Linked DNA regions of Homo sapiens: region 1 is linked to region 2. The links are contacts of gene promoters, found by promoter capture Hi-C in human tissues and cell types (Jung and others, 2019). All regions are on one chromosome and are shown on one strand. Each heading gives the region's core, a stretch centred on a gene start or on the middle of the fragment in contact. The rest is flanking DNA. Distances are from core to core; before and after follow the strand shown. Region 1 overlaps GABRA4 (gamma-aminobutyric acid type A receptor subunit alpha4). Region 2 holds the start of GABRA4 (gamma-aminobutyric acid type A receptor subunit alpha4).

Region 1 (4,105 bases), core at 1,092-3,591, 41 kb before region 2:
TTTGAAATATGAATGCAATTCATAAGAAACACTGTGGGAAAATAAGTATAAAGAAAAAGAAATTAGATATTGAAAGCTAATCAAGGAGAGATTCATTTTTTTTAATTAACCAATAACAAATAGGATTCACCATATAAAAATCTCACTCTACTTTTATGAATTGTTGGGGATGCTAAAATAACTTTCTGTCAGCAGATCAGGTCCCCATTGACCATGATCTATTTCAGTCCCAAAATGTATTCTTGTTCTATGTATAACAGGTAACCTCCTTGGTGCCATTTTTAGATCAGCCCGTTGGCAAACATTAGGCAGAAAGCATGTTAACATTTTTCAGGATCAGCTAAGGCTTTAGCACAGTGGGTTTCTTGCTTGCAGAAGCAGTGATGGTGAGCTAAGCACAAGAGAGAGTGCCTGTTGAAGCTCAGAATCTATACAAGCATAAACTGCTTCAAGTCAAAATAAAGCAAAGCAAACAAGCTAACAAAACGATCCTACTGAGACCATTAGGATGCCCAGAGAGGATGTGCCCCCATTAGGCCCAGGCACACAAAGTACGGCTCCAAGGTTTTGATACTCTCAGCTCAGCCTAAATCTCTGTCTTCAAAACAAATAACCTAACGAATTTAAAAATGCAAATCACTATCATCATTCATGACAAATTCTTATTAATTATCTCTTTTGCTGTTAAAAAGAAGCGACTAATAAGGCAATTTTATGTCAGAGCTGGGCCTCACCTTTACTTCAAAAGACCATTTTCCACCTCTTTAAAAGCCATTTTTCTCTAGCAAAATGGCATTTTCTAATGGCTCAACCTAATAAAATTTAGCTTTTCTCAAAACAAATCTCAGGCTCATTTCTTCATGGAAGAAGCAGCATGTGAAAGTTAAGTGCCTAACCCAGGCTTCCACTTATCATTGCCCTCCCACGTTTTTTTAAGCTAATGATATTCTCTAAGAAAATAAATAAATAAATAAATAAATAAATAAATTACTATATGCTTGTCCAGCTCTTGCTTACTCTCCAGGGAAGCAAGAAGCTTCAAGCTCCAAGAAAATCTCGTTTTTACTCCTTCAAAGCAAGATATCCTTATCAGAGCTCTTCCAGCCAAGCTAGCCCTCAGAAGAGTATCTGATTATTATTAGAGCAGGCGAGTATTAGATTCCTTCCTTCACTCATAGCCAGAAAACCTATACTGGGGCCCCAGGTATCCCTGACCAGCAGAGTTGAGCATGACTCTTACTTTCTATCTCATACCTATCTGCACTGGGAGACAGAGACAACCGGCATAATAAAACTAAGGCTCAGAGGAAAAGCCAGTGGAATACAGGAATAGCACTTGCTTCATATGGGTGAGTTCCAAAGAAATTAGGTCGTTTGTGGTTAAGAGAAGAGTTACACAGATTTCCTTCAGTTATCCAAAACCTATATGTGACCCTCAAAAAGCTAATTAACAATGTTGAATGGGTTTGTGGGACTTTTTACTGTTATTATGTTATCTAACCAGTTAATATTAATAATATTTTATATATTATTAAATATATACTATGTATTTATAATTAATATTTTACAAAGACTACATTGTATTCATACAGTCTTTCATTCATTGACTCAATCAACAAATATTGGGTGCCAGGCCACTAAATATTGGTCTTCAAGTTCATACTCTTCAAAACACTTTTCAAATAAATCTGCCCAATAAACTAAACCCATATGTCCTCATAGCTTGTTACGCTGGAGATAGTAATATTCCCACTTTGTAATTAAAGAGTTGACTTTCTGCTTTTTGAATACAGAGTCCTTGCCACTCTTTGCCAAATTCTCTTTGGAGATGTCAATCCCAATCTCCAAGTGCCAGGGACCTAGACAAAGAGAAAGTGCAGATGTGCTAAACGGTGGGGCTTCTTCTTCCTCTATAGCTCTTCCGTTTTCCTAATATTAATATGTATAATAAAATACTAGGAAATTTGTTATATATATATATGTGTGTGTGTGTATATGTATGTGTATATATATGTGTGTATATATATGTGTGTACGTGTGTGTGTGTGTGTGTGTACATATATATATAATTTTCAAGCGGTATCTTGATATCCACATTAAACTGACTGTACTTAGAAAAACTTTTCAGGGAGGCAAAAATAGAGTGCCCACATGACTACTGCTTCTGTGAATCCCCTAAGAATGGCCTTCTCTCTCACTAGGAAGCCTAAAACTGTTTGCAATTAGACAACAAAAAGCAATTAAAAGTATTTATTTTTTAAAAGCTTGTTTTAGCCAACCCACCCTCAAAAGAGAGACAGAGAGTCTGAGAGAGAAGAAAAATTTAGTGGCCTACATTGTTTGGGATTGGTGAGACTAGAGAGTATAAAGAAATCTCCATACTGGTCATCGATATGAAGATATCAGAGTTATAAAAATTGAACTCAAATTCAAGAGCTATAGACTGAGGGAGAAGGAATATAGTCTTACAGAACAACTAAGAAGTTAAAAATTCAGGATTATTCATCGTGGCAGCAAAAGACAGTTTGGGAAAGTACATGATGTATTAGTCAAGTAAAGAATCTAGGAAGCTAAAAAAATCCTGTAACATCTGAAATACTAGAAAATATTAAGAAAAGCATGCCATGCCATACAATCTGAGTGAAAAGTGTCCTCTTTCTAAAACTGTTGCAAAATTGATCAAAATACATAAAAATTTTCTTTTTCCAAAGACATTTTTCATACATAATATCCTCTAATTCATTTAAGTGAAATAAAATAAGTCATACCCAAACTGATGTTTCTTGAAACTTCTAAATCATCTGAGGCTGAGCAAAAAGCTGGAGATTTAGCGATGTATATTATGTTGTGGGAAAATTAGCTCCTCAAAATAGCAAAAGGGAAAATTGGCAGCTTAGTCAAATACACCAGAAGGAATGAATAATCTTACTCAGTAGCTTAGGGATGAGAACTTGGTGGAAAATATAACTAAATGTTGAGGAAAGTTGTTTAAAGCAGTTGTTTATTTTTGAAGCTGATTTTTTCCATTCTAAAAAGAAGTGCTGGCCCACTCACATTGCGATATAAATGGAAAAAAAAGATTATAAAATAAATAAAATATTGAAGTACCAGAAAAAAACCTTTTAATAACAAAATTTCACCAATGGAAATGTGTAGTTTTTTCATATATTGCTATCACCAGCAACCATGTCTATATCTCAGTTATATGAGGAATGAAATCAATCAGCAGGCATTTCTTGAGCACCTGGCTATGTGTTAGGAAATATGTGCCAGATGTGCTGGGGAAGTGACGGAGTAAATGGAGAAGTAATAACAATTCCAATAATATGGTAATTGTTTATAAATTAGATAGCAATTCTAGAATGATTCTTAAGCTAGACCATAAACATTACAAACCAACTCATGATATTCATAATAATGAGCTGGCTTATCCTTTCTACTCTCCTTTATCTGCTGACGATCAATAAAATACACCTCACCACCAATCTGAGTTCTGCCAGCATCCCTCACCCCCTAAAGCTCAGCATGCTTCTTTGTAGTGTCCCTTGGTCCAAATACAGTGTCTGTTCCTCTGGATTATTTATATCACTATACTCTGTCTCCTGATGTAGTATTTCAGGGCAAAAACTACCTCCTAAACTTCTTGGAAATTTTTCCCACTTTTAAAACAACAGATGTTGTAAATAAGTATTGTTAATTGAATATGTTGATGCACATAAAATAGATTATTTCAAATCAAAATAATGGTAATATATTCTAAAGTTTTCTAAATGTTTAAAATGTCACAACATTTTGGGAAAACTGTGGATTAGTTAGTCTACAATTTGTTAAAATAACTGTGCAAAATTAATTGGTGATTTTTAGAGTTGACAAAATCCACATGTATTTTATGAAAAGTAGATGATCTAAAAAATGTGATTAATTTTCTCTGACCGCTTTCTACGTAAACCAAACCACTGACTAAGGGTATGGCTTGTATATAAATGGGATAGAGTTTCAAAGTATGGCTTACACTTCTAACAATGTAAACATTAAGACAATCTTCAGAAAAATTGTGGATAGTTGGGGAGTAAGTATGGGGCCAGGGACACAGCAGAGTTCAGCA
Region 2 (3,788 bases), core at 745-3,244:
CATGCTTCTAATATTAGATGATACTCATCACACAGCATCTGATACCATCCCCATCTGCACGGCTTTGTCTTTTAAATACACAGCCTGCTCTGGGTTTACATCCTTCTCCTCCTACTTACTAACTTGGAACTTGGACTCAATTTCCTTATCTGTAAAGTGGGGATGGTAATGGCTTTCAAAGCTTTGTTGTGAGGGTTAAACAGAGTGGTGATGCCTACAAAATGCCTGGTATATGTGAACATTTAATTAAATAAATACAATATTACTGGCTGTTATTATTGTTACCACTTGAATGTAAGCTCCTTTAAGGCAGAATCTCTATCCTGTTCAACTCAGTTGCTGAAGGGTAATTAGTGCAGTGTACTGTAAAAAACAGGGACTTTGAGATCAAAGGACCTGGGCCAAACCTATGAATGGGACCCTAGCAAGTCATTTGTCCTCGTTGAACTGGACTGAGAAGCTGTTTGAGGTTAAGAATTGTATCTTAATATTTCTGTGGACCTAGTACCTAGCGCAAAGCTTGCCACATAGATTTCCATTATATATGCAAAGGAAATATGAATATGAAAAACAGCAACAGTGCTGTTAATGGATGTACCTCTATTAAGTCCTTTATACTTATTTTGTTGAAGAAAGCAAGCTGGAACATCTCTAACTTTAAAGTCTTAGGAGGAAAGCAAATGACACATCACCAAAAAAGAAAGGGAAAAAAGAAAAGCATCCTGCTGTAGAAGAGAAAAGGAAAGGACTGGGTTCTCTAGCAGAGCAGGCAGCTTCATGCCCCAGATTTATGTCCCAGGTAGAACATTGGCCAAGGTTTTGGCATAGGCATGGACACGTGGGAGGATGAGGGACTTCGGTTCAGCTGCCTCCAATGCAACCTGCTCTGAGCGAAGTGGCCAGGTTCAGGGAAACTATTCTCAGCGAAGAGCGTCCAGGCAGCTGAGCCCAGAGTTCCCATTTTTGACTCTTCCTCTCCAACCTCCCCCACCCAGCAGTCAGGTCCCGGGAGGTAATTAGTGTGGGGGAGAGGCAAAGCTTCTGAGGGGGCAGGGAGATGGGAAAGTACGGGTGGAGGCGGTCTTCTTGTCATAGGTCTCACCAAGAGAGGAGAGATAGAAAGAGAGAGAGATTTATTTTTGCACGTGAGGCATACCTAATGATATTCCCACAGACAGACAGACAGGAAGACCAAGAGAGGGACAGACAGGACACACTTGCGCGTTTGAAATCGTTCATACCCCCAAATCCAGGACGCAGCCTGTTGTCATAACCATCGAGCAAACTGTCCAGGATGCGGGTGAAATTTTCTGTGCACAATTTCTCCTCCTTTTGGTTCTGTCCTGGGGATTCGTTTAAACTGCAAGCGAAAAAAAAAAAACCGGGGGCGGAGGAGATTATTTTAAGAATCCATCAGAGAACAGGTGCAAACAGGTTTGTTTTCTAGGGAAAGAGTCGCTTGCCCCAAGCTAAAGGAGAGGAGGTTGGGGGTTGGGATGCAGAAGACAGAAATGGTCAGGAAAAGCGCGCCCCGCCGCAAGACCCCCAGTGCCCACACGCCTCTTGGATCCTGCGCCCTTGGTGCTCTCCGCATCTATGCGGTCACAGAAAAGCCTGGCTTCGGCCCCTGCTCTTACAGCTGAGATAAGAAGACCTAGTCCACCCAGGGAGGAGCGAGTGGCCAAAGGGGTCCCGGAGCTAGCCATTTCTCCACTTTCCGTTGCCCACCTCCTCGCACCCCAGAGAACTCACCAAACCGCCAGGCACAGGAAGCGCAGGAGGGCGAAACTGACCCCGGCGGACAGAGCGATCGCGGGTACCTTCTTGGCAGAAACCATCTTTGCAACATGCCATACTTCAAGCCTGTTCACGTTTCCAGGCTCTTCAGATGCCCTGAGCAGGGTGCGAGGAGAGGGCAGAGAGGCTCCCGCGGCGTGCGCACACTCGCGCTCACACTCGCCCGCGCTCAGCCAGCCCGAGCCGCGGTGGGCGTGTGTGTGCACGGGGCCAGGGGAGGCGGAACCTGCCTTCCTCGCCCCCTCCTTTCTCGCTCAGCGCTCAATGTGTATGTAGAGCTATGTATACCGCTCCACACCCTTTCGTGCCCGCGCGCTGAAGGTTCTGGGGTTCGTATCCGCGCGCTTGCGCTGCAAGACTCGGCAAGTTTGTTCCGACTGTAACTCCGGGGATGAGGAACGGGGTCTCTCGCCCCTCCTCCGGCTTCGCAGCCCCCGACCCCAAGTGGGCTCCCCGCCCACAGCAGTGTTCGTCCTCCTACCTCCTGGCCCCCTCCCTTCCGCTGGGATTTGGATCTAACCAATGAAGCTCCTCTGTCATCAGGTTGTGCGAGGACCTGTTTGTACCCAGAGTCAAGGTTGGAGGTGGAGAAAGGGCGGGTGACGGGGACTGCTGGGCGTCGGGTGGTAGCGGTGGTGAGGAGAGGGGATCAAGTCCGGGCTCAAACCACCTTTGAGACCCTCCCATTCAGGTGTTATGGGGGGCGGTAGGGAGAGCAATGAAAGCAGAAAGATTCTTCCTGGTAACAGGGGTTGCAGCTCACCCGGCGGACTCTCGCCAAACTATTGGGAAGTGGACTCGAGCCGCACTCTAGTCCCAGTATTTGCTAAGCTATTGCTTTAAAGACACCCCATTTCTTTACCCGCCTCCACCAGACACGCGCACACCCTCCGCTTTGCTGCTCCATCCTTTTCTGGAGAGGAGGGGAGAGGTGGAGACAAGCGACCTCTGGTCAAAATCACTTTCACTTCTTGCGACACTCTTCTTTTTCAGAATGGAGTTGACTTACTTCCAGAGGTTGACTGCTTTAGGTAGGGGGAAAGGACGGCTGGAGAGAGAGTGGGGGGGGAAAGAGAAAATGTGTGTGTGTGTGTGTGTGTGAGAGAGAGAGAGAGAGAGACAGAGAGAGACAGAGAGAGAGAGAGAGAGAGAGGCAGAAGGTGGGGTATGGAGAGAAAGGATACATAAATTAAAATGGAGGGGGACAAATATTAGTTCCCTTGTGACATGAAAGGGAACACTAAGCTCCATATCTTTACTGTTTTACTGAGCAAAGATAAGCATTCCCAATAGATCTTTGGAAACATTAATTATTGGCTCCAAGGGGGAAAAGCGTCTTTCAAATTAGTAATGATGCATGTGGAAATTTTCATATGATGGATCAATGAGCTAAGTAATTCCCATACCTTGGAACCAAACACCAATTAGGTTCTAGTCGGAACTCTGATGATTTGTTCAAATTGAGATGACTAGTGGACGGGTATGAAGAGGGAACGCATTGTATTAGACAGGGGTTTTGGTTTTTTTGTGTGTTTTAAACGTCTGGATTCAAGTTTTCTTTCTAAGGGAAAGCCCAAAGTGCTCATCGTGGGCAGTAGCTAGAGCTCCGTGCTCTGTATTCTGTACTGCTTTCTTCATGGAATTTGTTAACTTCATCCTAATCCCATCTCTATCATTCTTTTCTCATAGACTGTGGTCTCTCTGAGGGCCTGGGCTAGGTAATTTTTGCTCATCTGTGTTTATTTTATCTGCTGTTACAGTGCATGGCACATAGAATGTCAATAAATATTTATTGAATGAACAATTAAACAAAGCAATGAATTGCTTGTTCTCAGATCCATCTTATAAATGTGGATGACTATCAAGCTCTCTCGTTTGGGAAAAATAGCGGAAGAACTAGTGTATCCTCCAAATATGCCATGAAAGCATTAGTCACCACAGATTCTCCACATATTATATTATTTCTCTAATCTTAATACTTTCCTACCTTT

Evidence for each region. The method cuts DNA at HindIII sites, captures the fragments that hold promoters and counts their contacts. A contact is called where the count stands out against the background at its distance.
Region 1: a contact is called between a fragment that was not itself captured here and the fragment with the promoter of GABRA4 in region 2, in 1 of the 25 tissues and cell types used here (heart right ventricle).

What each region holds. Positions count from the first base shown.
Region 1 is chr4:46,949,761-46,953,865 of GRCh38, forward strand. All of the region lies in intron 8 of GABRA4 (gamma-aminobutyric acid type A receptor subunit alpha4), which reads right to left. Among named protein-coding and RNA genes, the nearest start is that of GABRA4, 42 kb to the right of the region's middle. The HindIII fragment of the contact is 4,295 bases long and covers 195-4,105 here.
Region 2 is chr4:46,991,587-46,995,374 of GRCh38, forward strand. GABRA4 (gamma-aminobutyric acid type A receptor subunit alpha4) reads right to left here and starts at 1,995. Exons shown (of 9, transcript NM_000809.4): 1 at 1,753-1,995; 2 at 1,242-1,360. The coding sequence starts at 1,838. It also overlaps a transcript of GABRB1 not described here. RefSeq lists a silencer at 1,926-2,220 and an enhancer at 2,382-2,451. The HindIII fragment of the contact is 6,154 bases long and covers 779-3,788 here.